Regions from separate parts of the Homo sapiens genome. Here region 1 is linked to region 2. The links are contacts of gene promoters, found by promoter capture Hi-C in human tissues and cell types (Jung and others, 2019). All regions are on one chromosome and are shown on one strand. The core of a region is centred on a gene start or on the middle of the fragment in contact, and the rest is flanking DNA. Distances in the headings are between cores, read along the strand shown. Region 1 has its middle 5.6 kb from the start of CDC42. Region 2 holds the start of CELA3A (chymotrypsin like elastase 3A).

Region 1 (7,516 bases), core at 4,929-7,428, 48 kb after region 2:
CCCAGATTATCTTTGCCAGAGATGTGTAAGCAAGATGAAGGAGGCAAGCCTGGGCCAGTTAGAGAAAAGGCAAGAAGGAAACAGGTTTGGTGAGTTCCTCCCCTTTCTCTGCCTCCAGGAAGGGTTCAGGTCCCTAGACAAGCATAATGATGTGGGCATAAGTGGAGGAGGGAGGCTGAACAGCTGGAGGGGCTGCAGAGGGAGCAGATCCCTTAGTGGAGGCAGCCCCAGCAGCTGTAACCCCTTGTGGTGCAGCAGGTAAACCAGGAACACGGCTGGAGTCCTGGCAGTAGGGTTGGGGGGCTCCTGGAGAGGTCTGGGCCATGACCAGCCAGGGGAATCAGGAAAGAGGGGTGGGCTGCGGTCTCAGTGATATGAATTATACAACACATCAACCTTTTGGCAACAACAGAGATACTTTAATATATTTATTTTCAACTTTAATTAATTTTTATTTATTTTTTTGAGACGGTGGTCTCACTCTGTTGCCCAGGCTCAAGTGCAGTGGTGTGATCTTGGCTCACTGCAGCCTTGAACTCCTGGCTCAAATGATCCTCCCACCTCCTGAGTAATTAGCACTACAGACGCACACCACCATTCCCGGCTAATTTTTGTATTTTTTTTGTAGAGACGAGGGTCTTGCTATGTTGCCTAGGCTTTAACTTTTTTTTTTTTGAGACAGAGTCTCACTCTGTTGCCCAGGCTGGAGTGCAGTGGCATGATCTCCTCTCACTGCAACCTCCATCTCCTGGGTTCAAGTGATTCTCCTGCCTCAGCCTCCCAAGTAGCTGGGATTACAGGCACCCACCACCACACCTGCTAGTTTTTGTATTTTTAGTAGAAATGGGATTTCACCATGTTGGCCAGGCTTGAACTCCTGACCTCAAGTGATCTGCCCGCCTCAGCCTCCCAAAGTGCTAGGATTACAGCCTTGAGCCACTGTGTCTGGCCCTAACTTTTATTATTTATTTATTTATTTATTTATTTCGAGACAGAGTCTTGCTCTGTCACCCAGGCTGGAGTGCAATGACACCATCTTGGCTCACTGCGACCTCCGCCTCCCGGGTTCAAGCCATTCTCCTGCCTCAGCCTTTCAAGTAGCTGGGACTACAGGCATGCATCACCATGCCTGGCTAATTTTTGTATTTTTAGTAGAGACGGGCCCTGTTGGCCAGGCTGGTCTTGAACTCCTGACCTCAAGTGATCCACCTGCCTCAGCCGCCCAGAGTGCTAGGATTACAGGCATGAACCACTGCACCTGGCCTTTTATTTTTTAATGAACTATTACACATACGAAAAGCAAATAAAACATGTACCATAGAATAAATAATGATAAGGCAAACATCCATGTAATCATCACCCAGGTCATGAAATAGAACACTGCCAACACTGCCCCCCCAGTACCCCCATCCCTTCCAGATTCTAACCCCCTTTAGAGGCGGCCACTAGCTGAATTTGTATGATAATCACTTCCTTGGTTTTCTTCGCAGTTTTTGCCTATGAATCACACAGAAAGTCTTAAATTAGAATTTTCTCACACAAATCCCAAGCCTGAAGACCTTGGAGGAGAGCCTCTTTAATGTAGATCTTCTTCTTCTTTAGTAAATCTTGGCAGGCCCTTGGGGAGATGGTGGTGGATTTGCAGTCTTGCATTTGGCAGAGAATGCAGTATGAGGCTTCTCTCATTCAGCCAAAGTGTTCTAGGGATCTGAAGAGGACTGTGAGGGGCACAGCAATGCATCCAAAACCAAGCTTGCCCCTGGGAGCTTGCAGTAGGGTGGAAAAAGTGTGGGTAAACATGATAGCCCAGACAGAGGGCCTGGAGAGGGGCTCTGATAAGGGCTCTGGGGGTTTAGAAGAGCCAGCAATCCCTTTTGGCAGTGGGAAGCAGAGCTGGCTTTGTGTAAGAGGTGGTGGTGTATGCATTCATGCATCATTTATCAAACATTTTTGAGGGATGGCAGTGTGCCAGGAAATTAGGTAAAAAAAAATAAAATGAATAAGATCTCTGCCTGCTTATGGCCTAATAGTTTAGCATAAATAGATACAAATAATTCCAATATGAGATGCTTTAAATACAAAGTGATATAAGACTGATTGGTTGCCTGGGGTTGTCGGGAGATTTCAAAACTAAGGCCTAGGCCAGTCCTTGAAGGAGAGAAGAGTGGAGTTTGGCAGACAGAGAAGGGAGCCACTGAATCCACAGAGGCACAGAGGTGGGAAAGGACACAAGGTGGATGTTGGCAAAATGTACAGTTCATGGTGGGAAGAAGAGTGGACTTGACATGTAGGATGGATAAGCAGGAAAGGTGTTTTAGGGAAGAGGATCAGCATGAGCAGTGGCAGAGAGGTGAGAAGTCATGGTTCCTGCCTGTATGATACTAAGTATTATACAGTCTAGCTGTAGCATAGGTGTGTAGTGGAAGGTGTGATGATTAATTTTATATGTCAACTTGACTGGGCCATGGGGTGCCCAGATATTTGGTCAAACATTATTTTCGGTGTGACTGCAAACTTGTTTCTGGATGAGATTAAGATCTGAATCAGGAGACTGAGCAAAACAAATTGCCCTCTCATCCAATCAGTTGAAGGCCAACATAAAACAAAAAGGCTGACCCTCCCTTGACTGAGGGAGAATTTTTCTTGCCTTCAGACTTCAAAGAGAAACACTGGCTCTTCCTCTGTCTTGAGCCTGCTGGCCTTTGGACTGGAACTGAAACATCAGCTCTCCTGGTTCTCAGGCCTTCAGGCTTGGACTGGAGCTACACCATTGGCTCTCCTGGGTCTCCAGCTCAGTGACTCACCCTGTGTATCTTGGGACTTGTCCTCCATAGTCGTGTGAGTGAGCCAATTATAATAAATCTCTTATAATAAATCTTTCTCTCTATATATATATATGTATATTTTATATATAGAGATTATTATATATAATTTATATATTATGTATGATTATATAATATATAATTTATATATTATATATAGACCATTCTATATGTATATATAACCACTCTCTATATAGAGAATGGTTTTATTTTTATTATTATTTCGAGATGGAGTCTCCCTCTGTCGCCCAGGCTGGAGTGCAGTTGTTCGATCTCGGCTCACTGCAACCTCCACCTCCTGGGCTCAAATGATTCTCCTGCCTCAGCCTCCCAAGTAGCTGAGATTACAAGCACGCATCACTACACACAGCTAATTTTGTATTTTTAGTAGATATGAGGTTTCACCATGTTGGCCAGGCTGGTCTCGAACTCCTGACCTCAAGTGTTCCACCCGCCTTGGCCTCCCAGAGTGCTGGGATTACAGGTGTGAGGCACTGCACATGGCCAGAATGGTTTTATATGTAATATATAAATAATATATATTACCATTCTATTGGTTCTGTTTCTCTGGAGAACTATGACTAATACAAAAAGAAAGGGAAATCACTTTGGAAAGGCAAAGATCATAGAGGACATAGAATGTCTGGGTAAAGTCTTAAATTTTTTTTTTTTTTTTTGAGATGGAGTCTCTCTCTGTCACCCAGGCACTGCAACCTCCACCTCCTAGATTGAAGCGATTCTCCTGCCTCAGCCTCCTGAGTAGCTGGGATTACATGCATGCACCAACATACCCAGCCAATTTTTGTATTTTTAGTAGAGATGGGGTTTCACCATGTTGGTCAAGCTGGTTTCAAACTCCTGACCTCATGATCTGCCCACCTCGGCCTCCCAAAGTGCTGGGATTACAGGTCTGAGTCACTGTACCCAACCAAAGGTCTTAAATTTTATTCTGAAGACAAAGGAGAAAACACTGAAGGTTTCTGAGTAAGGGAGTGACCTAATCAGAGCGATGATATAGGAAGATAAATGCTGTGCTTTGTCAAATGAGTTAAAGTAGAGATTCTTTTTTTTTTTTTTTTTTTTTGAGACGGAGTCTTGCTCTGTGGCCAGGCTGGAGTGCAGTGGTGCGATCTCTGCTCACTGAAACCTCCGCCTTCCGGGTTCAAGCGATTCCCCTGCCTCAGCCTCCTGAGTAGCTAGGACTACAGGTGAGCGCCACTATACCCAGCTAATTTTTTGTATTTTAGTAGAGACAGGGTTTCACCATGTTGGCCACAATGGTCTTGATCTCCTGACCTCGTGATCCTCCCGCCTTGGCCTCCCAAAGTGCTGGGATTAGAGGCGTGAGCCACCGCACCCAGCTGAGATTCTTTTTATTTATTTTTTTGAGACAGGGTCTTGCTTTGTCACCCAGGCTGGAGTGCAGTGTAGTGCACTGGCATGATCATGGCTCACTGCAGCCTCAACATCGCAGGCTCAAGCGACCCTCACATCTCAGCCTCCCCAAGTAGCTGGGACTACAGGTGCTTGCCACCACACGGTTTTTATATTTCTTGTAGAGATGAGGTCTCAGTATGTTGCCCAGCCTGGTCTCAAACTCCTGGGTTCAAGTGATCCTCCCGCTTCAGCCTCCCAAAGTGTTGGGATTATAGGCATGAGCCACCATGCCTGGACTAAAGCAGAGAGCTTGAAGGGAGCCTCTAGAAATTAGATATGAATTTTGTGGGTATAGGATCTGTGATGCAGAAAAGGTTGAGAACTCCTGGATATACAAGGCTGTAGGGGCCAAAAGCAGACATAGGTGCTTAGACCCTGGAGTAGGTGGGAGCTGGAAGATGATTTTGATGGTGCTGAGTAGCTGGAAATTTGAAAATGGGGGTAGGATGCCGGGCGCGGTGGCTCACGCCTGTAATCCCAGCACTTTGGGAGGCTGAGGCGGGTGGATCGCCTGTAGTCAGGAGTTTGAGACCAGCCTGGCCAACATGGTGAAACCCCATCTCTACTAAAAAATACAAAAATTAGCTGGGCATGGTAGCAGTTGCCTGCAATCCCAGCTACTCGGGAGGCTGAGGCAGGAGAATCACTTGAACCTGGGAGGGGAGGTTGCAGTGAGCTGAGATCGCACCATTGCACTCCAGCCTGGTTGACAGAGTGAGACTCTGTCTCAAAAAAAAAAAAAAAAAAAAAAAAATTGGGGGTGGGAATAGGGGTTGGAAGAGGTATAGATTTGGGAGTTATTACCTAGAGGGTAGGGACAAGTACCTCATGGGCAGACAAGCAGGGCAGGGGTGGCAGTGATTCATCAAGAGTTTGGCAGTCATAAGCAACAGAAACCTACTCAACCTCGTTCAGGCAATAGAGGGAATTTATTGCTAATGTGACTGAAGATTGAAGCAAGACTGGATCTGATGTCTCATGCAATGCCACTGGGACTTGGTTTCATGTCTCCATCTCTCAGTTCTGTTTCCCCCTCTGTCTTGGTCTCATTCTCAGGCAGCATCTCTGCTTGCAGTGGGAAGCTGGCTGCCAGCAGTGCCACGATTACATCCTACTCTCAGCAAACAGAGATTCACTGAACTGAATAGTTGTGACCAAAGTTCCAGAATTAAATCTCATTGGGTCACATGCCTGTTGCTGAAATGGTGTGGCAACAGGGCTCTCTATAATGCTGTGATTGGCCAAGCCTGGGTCACGTGTCCATTCCCGCAACTAGAGATAGTGTCATCTCTAGAGCCACATGGATTGAGAGTTGGGGCAGGGGCTGCTCTAGGAGAAATGGAAGTGCTGTTACCAGAAGGAAGAATGGACACCGGAATGGTAGCCACCGGGAAGGGAGCCGGAGTCCCACAGGCTGTCCCTCCTGTTAACATGAGGCAGCTATAGCAGTGGGGCAGTAGCGGGGAGGCACTAGGAGGCTGGGGGCTGGGCCAGCAGTGAGGGACATGGTAGATTGGGTCAAGTAATAGTAACACCATTGCCACTGCTGTTTGGGGCTGTGAAAAGGTCTAGGAGGGTTCTTCTGACAAAAAACCTGACAACATAAAAGACATAGTGCTAAGTAAGTCCTTGTCCTCAGAATAAAGGCAGGAAAAGCTGAACAGTTGGGTGACACCCCATCAAGATATTGCTGCTACTGGAAAGGGCAGACGTTGTCTGGGGACATTCATGGGATTGTGAGACAGGATGAAGGAAAGGGCACTGCCAGCTGGACTTGTGAAGGGAAGAAACAACCATTTTCCCCTCAAGTTTAAAAAATGAAGCTTATGCATTTTTACAATAGTAATAAATTCACAATAGCCCAAAACAACCCAAATTCCAACAGTAGGAGTCTGGGTAAATATTGCAATGCCCGGAGAGTAAAATGCAGCCTTTACAAATGATGCTTTATTTGACATGGAAAGATGTTCACAATGTAGTTTTTTTGTTTTGTTTTGTTTTTGTATTTTTTGTAGAGATGGGTGGGGGCAGGTCTTGCTATGTTGCCCAGACTGGTCTTGAACTCCTGGGCTCAAGTGATCCACCCGCCTCGGCCTCCCAAAGTGTTAGGATTATAGGTGTGAGCCACATTAGAGGTAGGACTACAGCTGAAGCTTATCTTCCTGTTTTTTTTTTTTAGGTGGGGTTTTGTTCTTGTTGCCCAGGCTAGAGTGCAATGGCGCAATCTCGGCTCACTGCAACCTCTGCCTCCCAGGTTCCAGCGATTCTCCTGTCTCAGCCTCCCGAGTAGCTGCGAATACAAGTGCATGCCACACCCAGCTAATTTTTGTATTTTTAGTAGAGAAAGGGTTTCACCATGTTGGTCAGGCTAGTCTTGAACTCCTGACCTCAAGTGATCCGCCCACCTCGGCCTCCCGGAGTGCTGGAATTACAGGCGTGAGCCACCGCACCTGGCTTTTTTTTTTTTTTTTTTTTGAGACAGAGTTTCACTTTTTTGTCGCCTAGGCTGGAGTGCAATGGCATGATCTCGGGGTCACTGCAACCTCCGCCTCCTGGATTCAAATGATTCTCCTGCCTCAGCCTCCCAAGTAGCTGGGATTACAGGCACCTGCCACCACACCGAGCAAATTTTTGTGTGTGTGTTTTTTAGTACAGATGGGGTTTTACCATGTTGGTCAGGCTGGTCTTCAACTCCTGACCTCAGGTGATCCACCAGCCTCAGCCTCACAAAGTGCTGGGATTACAGATGTGAGCCACTGTGCCTGGCCTGAAGCTTATCTTCTAATTTCTCTATAATAAACCTGCTTGATAGTGTGGTAGTGTCATAGTCAACTAGAGCCAGCCTCCTGAGTGCAAGTCTCAGCTCTGCCACTGCTTGGCATGGCGGCTATGGACAAGTCTCTTAACACCTCTGAGCTTCAGTTCATGTAACCATAAAGTGGGGGTAACAGTTCTTAACTCATAGGGTGGCTGTGAGTATTAAATTAGCTACTACTACCTGCAAAGCTATTAGCCATACCTGCAGTAAACACTAAAAAATGTAGTTCTTATTTTTGGGTAATTAAAAAATCCAAAAGAGGGCTGGGTGCGGTGGCTTACACCTGTAATCGCAGCCCTTTGGGAGGCCAAGGCAGGTGGATCACAAAGTCATGAGTTCAAGACCAGCTTGGCCAATATGGTGAAACCCCGTCTCTACTAAAAATACAAAAATTAGCTGGGCATGGTGGTGGGCACCTGTAGTCTCAGCCACTTGGGAG
Region 2 (7,948 bases), core at 4,792-7,291:
GAATGTGGTTGACCTGGAGGAGCCATTTCATGCTCTATTTTTAGATTGGTGTAAAAGCGTAATTGCAGTTTTTGCCATCACTTTTAATGCCAGGGAAGCCAGAAGAAAGTATCACAAACTGGGTGGCTTAAACAACAGAAACTGATTGTCTCACAATCCTGAGGCTGGAAGAAGGAAATCAGGGTATTAGCAGCTTGTTTCCTTCTGAGGGCTACGAGCAAAGGTTCTGTTCCCTCACCTTGGCTTGTAGATGGCCACCTTCCCTCTCCGCAGTTTCTCTGTGTCCCAGTTTCCACTTTATATAAGCACGCCAGTCAGGCTGGGCGCAGTGGCTCAGCCTGTAATCCCAGCACTTTGGGAGGCTGAGGCGGGCAGATCACCTGAGGTCGGGAGTTCGAGACCAACCTGACCAACATGGCAAAATGAGGTCTCTACACAAATACAAAAATTAGCCGGGCGTGGTGGCACATGCCTGTAGTTCCAGCTACTGGGGAGGCTGAGGCATGAGAATTGCTTGAACCTGGGAGGTGGAGGCTGCAGTGAGCCGAGATCGCGCCACTGTACTCCAGCCTGAGCGACAGCCAGGTAAAATGAAGCTGAGACCTGGGCTGCATTCCCAGACAGATAGCCAGTTAAGGTTAAGGCATTTTAGGTCACAGGATGAGATAGGAGATCCACACAAAATACAGCTCATAAAGACCTTGCTGATAAAACAGTTTGCAGTAAAGAAGCCGGCCAAAACCCTCCAAAACAAAGATAGCCATGAGAGTGACCTCGGGTCGTCCTGACTGCTACACTCCCACCAGCACCACGACAATTTACAAATGCCATGGCAACGTCAGGAAGTTACCCTATATGGCCTAAAATAAGGGGAGGCATGAATAATCCACCCCTTGTTTAGCATATCAGCAAGAAATAACCATAAAAAAGGGCATGTCTATGGAGTAACCATTCTTTATACCTTTACTTTCTTAATTAACTTGCTTTCACTTTCCTCTACGAACTCGCCCTGAATTCTTTCTTGCACAAGATCCAAGAACCCTCTCTTGGCATCTAGATTGGGACCCCTTTCCTGTAACATCGGGAAGGTATGGCACTGGCCGTGGGGAAAGGGCTGTGCCTGTCCCCACTGCCATTGCTCAATAACCTCCTTGGATCCCAGCCGGGATGATGCCTTCCCTGGGACAAGAGATACCTGCATACTGTCCTAGCCCTGGGTTCCCATGGTGGCTTCTTTGTACCACAGGTGGGGCACCTGCAGGGCCTCCTTCCCCATCCCTGACACTGCTGACCCATCTGAGACAGCTGGGGCTGGTAGCTGGGAAATGTTGACCTGTAGTCATCAAAGAGATCAGAATCCGGTTTTTAAGAATTTATTCCAGCAAAAATCTGAGAATAGTCATCCAGAAACATGGGCTCCAGAGAAGAGGAGTAAGTGCTCCAAAGTTAAAAGTTAAAGTCCCGCCGGGCGTGGTGGCTCACGCCTGTAATCCTGGCATTTTGGGAGGCTGAGGCGGGCAGATCATTTGAAGTCAGGAGTTTGAGACCAGGCTGGCCAACCTGGTGAGACCCCATCTCTACTAAAAATACAAAAAATTAGCCGGGCGTGGTGGTACATGCCTGTAACCCCAGCTACTTGGGAGGCTGAGGCAGGAGAATTGCTTTAACCTGGGAGGCAGAGGTTGCAGTGAGCTGAGATCGTGCCATTGCACTCCAGTCTGGCACGACTCATCTCAAAAAAAAAAAAAAGAGCAAGACAAGAGCAAGACTCGTCTCAAAAAAAAAAAAAAATGCTGGGCGTGGTGGCTCACGACTGTAATCCCACACTTTGGGAGGCCAAGGTGGGTGGATCACCTGAGGTTAGGAGTTTGAGAACAGCCTGGCCAATGTGGTGAAACCCTGCCTCTACTAAAAATCCAAAAATTAGCCTGGTGTGGTGGCAGGTGCCTGTAATCCCAGCTACCTGGGAGGCTGAGGGCAGAAGAATCACTTGAACCCGGGAGGCGAAGGTGGCAGTGAGCCGAGATCTAGCCATTGCACTCCAGCCTGGGGGACAAGAGTGAGACTTCGTCTCCAAAAAAAAAAAAAAATTATGATCTTGCTCATACAGGCAGGAAACAAATTTAGTAGGACTATAACATTTCTATACCAGGCTGGTTTATGAGTTACAACAATATAGCTAGTTAAAATTTGTCTTCTTTTCCATACACTTTGTTTTATTTTCCTTTCCAATTTGTGTATTTAACATTCTATCTTAGATAATGTGATAGTCATGAAGTCTTTGTGTGAGAGAGAAAAGAAGGAAGTTAATCTATAATGAAGATTGACTGTTGAGAGGGAAACAGTCTGCCCTGTCACCCTTTAGTCATTTACAACATTTTATAAAACAATGTAGTTAAGGAAAAGCTAATCGATAACACAAACAAAAGTTATGCCTTCCTGTTTACATTACTCAGGTCCCATAATCTCATTCCCTTAAGTCTAAGGTATTTTAAAGTTCCAACAGCTTAGATTTTGAATATCTTATTTTCACAGAAACTACAGGGCAACAAGGCACCAGAGTCCCGGACTTAGGACCACTGTGTGTGATTCACCGTGAACACTGGCATATTAAAGGCTCTGAGAAGTCCTGTAGGAAAGGACAATTTGAACTTTGTTTGAGCTCATATTTTCCAATCCCATCTGACCTTTAGTTCTTCACTGAGTGCCCACTGGGTTATATTCTGGGAGCCGAGGCCACAGCAGTGAACAAAGCACACAAAACCCCCCGCCCCATGGGGGCTCCGTTCTAGTGGGTCCATTTATCATCAAACATCTATTAATATCTCTAGAATGTGCCCATCAGGACACCATCCAGATGCTGCTGCGCTTTTCCAGGCCACACAGAGGGGACACCCTCCAGGTGCATCCTGCATGAATATCAGGCTCAACCGTGCTTTCAGGGTAGGAAGCGGAGGGCATTTGAAGAGTCCTTTCCCTTCCTTCATTCATTTGTTGTCTCCTTGAATAAATGCTGTTGAAAACCTACCATGTGCCAGGCTCCCTTCTAGGTACTGGGAATCGGAAGATGAATAAGATAAAGTTTTGATCCTCAAAGAGCTTCCTGTGGGGTGGGAACTGGAAAGAATGGAACTCCCCCAGTCCCGGGAAAAAGGCTCACCAGCTTCCCCTCCGTCCCCTCGCCAGCTTCCCCGCCCTCCCTCTCCTTCCCAGACTGACCTCCTAATTTTGCATACTCTCCGACCTAACCTCCACCTCCCATTCAGGAAATGGCTTGCTTTGCTTCAGGCTGAGGCCTAAAGTAGATCTAACCCCTCCATCTTCCCTCTTGCGGGGCAGGTGTTGGAAGGAGGTTCATCTTCAGGGATTTCACTCAAGCTACTCCTAGGCCAGAAAACCCTCGGAGAGTTAATCAGCCGTGCAACTGCCAGTGTCAGTCCATAAGGCCTTGAAGTAACCAATCAGGCAGGGGTTGTGGTGGGACAGTTGGCGTCAGGGAGCCCCTCTCCCTGGGGACCCAGCAGAGCCGACAGAGAGGCTGGGACTTGCTCAAGGTCACCTGGGTAAGAAGCCGGGAAGGCTTCTCGGTTGAAGTTGGGGGAGGGAGAGTGGACCCTCCCGTGTCCGTGGGCTACCCTTCACCAGGCCAAGCAGTAACAAACCAGGGAAACTTGACCAAGTCCTGGCTTTTCTCTGGGTCATCATTTTCTTCTTCTTTTTTTTTTTTTTGTGACAGAGTTTTGCTCTTATTGCCCAGGCTGGAGTGCAATGGCACGATCTCGGCTCACCGCAAACTCCGCCTCCCAGGTTCAAGCGATTTTCCTGCCTCACCCTCCCTAGTAGCTGGGATTACAGGCATGTGCCACCACACCCGGCTAATTTTGTGTTTTTAGTAGAGATGGGGTTTCTCCATGTTGGTCAGGCTGGTCTCGAACTCCTGACCTCAGGTGGTCCACCCTCCTCGGCCTCCCAAAGTGTTGGGATTACAGGCGTGAGCCACTGTGCCTGGCCCATCATTTTCCCTTCTGTCAAATAAAAGTGGTTGGATTAGATCGCGTTTTAGGCCCTGTGGGTTTCAGACACTCTACAGTGGAATCTGGGCTTATCGGACCTAACCCTATCTCTCCCCAGCCACCTCCTGGGCCCCTCCCTCCTTCTTCCCTGGCGTAGGGTCTGGGGAATGGCTCAGAGCTTTCAAGCTGAGCAAACATGTCCGGGCACATAGGGAACAGAGGGTAGGGGAGGGCATGGCTATTTTTATCACAGTATAAAGGATTTTCACAGCTGCTTCCCTTGTGTCCACACACGTTCCACGAACCCAGGCTATCAGAGTGGCTAGGCTGTGATTGGAGGGGGTTCACTCCTAAAACAAAACCTGCTCAGCAAGATGCCTGACTTTCCCCCAGGAGGGATCTATTTAAATTGCCCCGTCTGGCCGGATGCAGTGGCTCATGCCTGTAATCCCAGTACTTTGGGAGGTCGAGGTGGGTGGATCACCAGAGGTCAGGAGTTGGAGACCAGCCTGGCCAACATGGTGAAACCCCGTCTCTACTAAAAATACAAAAATTAGCCGGGCGTGGTGGTGCGCGCCTGTAATCCCAGCTACTCAGGAGGCTGAGGCAGGAGAATCGCTTGAACCCGTGAGGTGGAGGTTGCAGTGAGCCAAGATCGCACCACTATAAAAAAAAAAATCTATTGTGTGAATATGCTACACATATTGACCTATGAACCTTGATGGACGTGGGAGTTGTTTCTAGGTCTTTGCTGTTGAGTTTTGAGAACAGGGGCTGCGGCAAACAATCTCATCCACACCTCCTGGAGCACATGCCTAAGGTTTTCTCACGGTATAGACCTAGGAGGGAAACGGCTGGATCACCTGTGAATTCCACTTTCGGGGTCGCCTGCTCTTTGACCTCATCTCCCACCCCTCTCTACTTTGACTACCAAGCTCCTGTCACACTGGCCTCCCCTTCCTTGAACAAGTCAAGCCCATTGCAGCCTCCAGAACTTCGCACCTGCTGTCGCCTCCCTTCAGAGCGCGTTTCTTTCAGGGATTCCCGTGGCTGGCTTTTACTTATCCTCAGGACTCCATCAGATATGACCTCCTCAGCCCAAATGTCACTTTCTCTGTCCCCCCCATCTAAATGACTTACTCCCATTCCTACCCCAATCACCTATGTTTCATTTTCTTTTCTTCTCTGTTTTTTTTTTTGGTTTTGTTTTTGTTTTTTGAGACAGTGTTGCTCTGTGGCCCAGGCTGGAGTGCAGTGGCATGATCTCGGCTCTCTGTAGCCTCTGCCTCTCCGCTCCCAGGTTCAAGTGATTCTCCTCCCTCAGCCTCCCAGTAGCTAGGATTACAGGTGCTGGGATTACAGGTGCTCACCACCACACCTGGCTAATTTTTGTAGTTTTAGTAGAGATAGGGTTTCATCATGTCTCGAACTTCTGACCTCAAGTGATCCTCCCACCTTGGCCTCCCAAAGCGCTGGGATCACAGGTGTGAGCCACCGCTCCTGGCCTAGACTCAAACTCTAGAAGGGCTGAGACCATGCATTTTTCACAGCTGTATCCCCTAGAACAGTGCCTGATACATAGAGAAAAAGTGCTCAACAAGAATTTTTTTGTGGAGGTGGGTACTAATATAAATCTCATGTTAGAGAGCAGAAAACTGAGACTCAGAGAGGTTAAGCCATGCGCCCAAAGTCGCAGAGCTTGAAGGTGGCAGAACCAGGATTGAACCGTGGTCTGCCCGGTTCCAGTGCCCCTGTTCTTTCCGAAAGAGGAGGTCTTGTCCTGACATGAGCTTTTCTTCCTGAACTCTTGTTATCAGTTGGCCACTCCACACCACCTGTCCAGCCACCTGTTGGAGGGAACGCTAGGTCCTCCCTTTGGCTGTCACTTGTCCATCTGCAGCAGGCGAGGACTGTGGCCTTGGACCATGGGAGACCTGGAGTTCCACCACCTGTTCTGGGAGTGGGGCCCAATCAGCCCCCCTGCTTACCTTCTGCCCTATATTAGAGCCCCAGGCTCTGTGCCCTTTTCCTATCATCACAAAACTCATGATGCTCCGGCTGCTCAGTTCCCTCCTCCTTGTGGCCGTTGGTAAGACCCCAACCTGTCTGTGTGCTCCCTGGGCTGCCCTGGACTAGGAATCCTTGAAATCTACCACTCGCTCTGAGTCCCATGACATGCTATGCCTGGTTCCACAGGAGGGGGTCTCAGCTTGTACCCGGGGGCATGACTGTAGGGGCTTTCAGCTTATGATGGAGCAGGAGAGTGGAGGGGAAGCTGTGGATGGTGAAAGACCCCCAAAGGGCTGTGGTGGAAGTCCTTGATGGGGGCAGTAAACAAAGTCAAACGGTTAAGAGTTTGGACTGTGTGGTTGGACTTCTTGGGTTGGAATTTCCACAGTTCTACTTACCACTCCAACTCTCCTCTCACTCCCCCTACCTGGCTCCATATTCTATGCTCTGGCCTTTTCCTGGTCTCTCTGCCATATTACATTCCAGCTCAGGGCCACCTCTTCCAAACAGCCTCCCTTGACTGACAATAATGGTAACAGATAACATTGATTGAGTGCTTACTATGCCAGGCAGAATGTTTAGGGATTTTCTTATACTTTCTCATGTAATTCTCACAACAGCCTCAGGAGATCAGTACTATCATTATCCCCCATTTTACTGACCCTCAAGGAAGTAAAGTAGCTTATCATAGAACAAAAGGCAGAGCTGCACTTAATGTTTTTATTTTTTGCTTTTTTTTTGTAGAGATGGGGTCTTGCTTTGTTGCCCAGACTGGTCTCAAAATCCTGGCCTCAAGCAATCCTACCACCTTAGCCTCCTGAGTAGCTGAGATTATAGGCACATGCCACCATACCTGGCTACTTTATTTTATTGTACTTTATTTTTCTAGAGATGAGGTCTTGCTATGTTGCCCAGGCTGGTCTCAAACTCCCGGGCTCAAGCGATCCTCCCGCCTCGGCCTCTCAGAGCACTAGGATTACAGGTGTGAACCACCACACACAGCCCAGAGCTGCACTTTGAACCCAGGAAGTCCTTCTTTAAAGCCTCCACTCTGTATGACAATAGCTCTCACTTTTTGAGGGCTCATCGAGGGCCAGGCATTGTTCTAAGTGTATCAAGCTCTTCAATCCTCCCAATGAAGGAGGCCACATTTGAATCTCTATCCCTGGACTCCTGGGATTCTGGAAAGCCCTGCTCTAGTTTAAATGTTCACTGTTCATATGTGGTTACTGAGGTCCAGAGGGCGAAAGGGGCTTGCATGGGGTCACACAGCCAGTTGAAGGCATGGCTTGGACTGGGACCCTGGCCTCCTCTTTGCTTTTGGGGACCCTCCAGCTGATTGACAGCTCTCCTCTCCCCTCTAGCCTCAGGCTATGGCCCACCTTCCTCTCACTCTTCCAGCCGCGTTGTCCATGGTGAGGATGCGGTCCCCTACAGCTGGCCCTGGCAGGTAAGAGCAATAGCAGCTGCCCTCATTCCCACCGTGGGCTCTGGACCCTAAGCTCTAATGGCGTGGCATCCAGCCTTGACACCATTGCTCCCTTTGCAATGTCCACTTCAGCTTCCAAAGACCAGGCAGCCCTTGGACCATCTACTTCACGGGGAGGTTTTGCCCGTTTCATCTGTAACCCTCACTGGGCTATTTGCAACTTAAAATTGGAATCGGGGGTGAAGGAAATGCTAAACTCAAGGAGTTGGCACACTGATGGTGGAATTTCAGGCACTGTGTTGACGAAGTGAGATTTTGAGAGACTCATTTCTAGATTCCTAGGATGATACTACAGGGCTTTGAGGTCTGAAAGCAATAAGGGAGTGAGGGATCTTGTAAGGCCAGTGGAGGGAAGCTCAGAAGGCTGGACTTGATGTGCTGTGGCTATTTAAATTTAATTAAATTAGGCCAGGTGCGGTGGCTCACGCCTGTAATC

Evidence for each region. Contacts are between HindIII fragments. The study calls those that stand out against the background at their distance.
Region 1: a contact is called between a fragment that was not itself captured here and the fragment with the promoter of CELA3A in region 2, in 1 of the 25 tissues and cell types used here (pancreas).

Annotation. Positions count from the first base shown.
Region 1 is chr1:22,043,302-22,050,817 of GRCh38, forward strand. No RefSeq gene overlaps it. Among named protein-coding and RNA genes, the nearest start is that of CDC42, 5.6 kb to the right of the region's middle. RefSeq lists an enhancer at 1,832-2,001. The HindIII fragment of the contact is 4,522 bases long and covers 3,918-7,516 here.
Region 2 is chr1:21,995,616-22,003,563 of GRCh38, forward strand. CELA3A (chymotrypsin like elastase 3A) reads left to right here and starts at 6,042. Exons shown (of 8, transcript NM_005747.5): 1 at 6,042-6,102; 2 at 7,388-7,473. The coding sequence starts at 6,060. It also overlaps a transcript of CELA3B not described here. The HindIII fragment of the contact is 21,174 bases long and covers 1-7,948 here.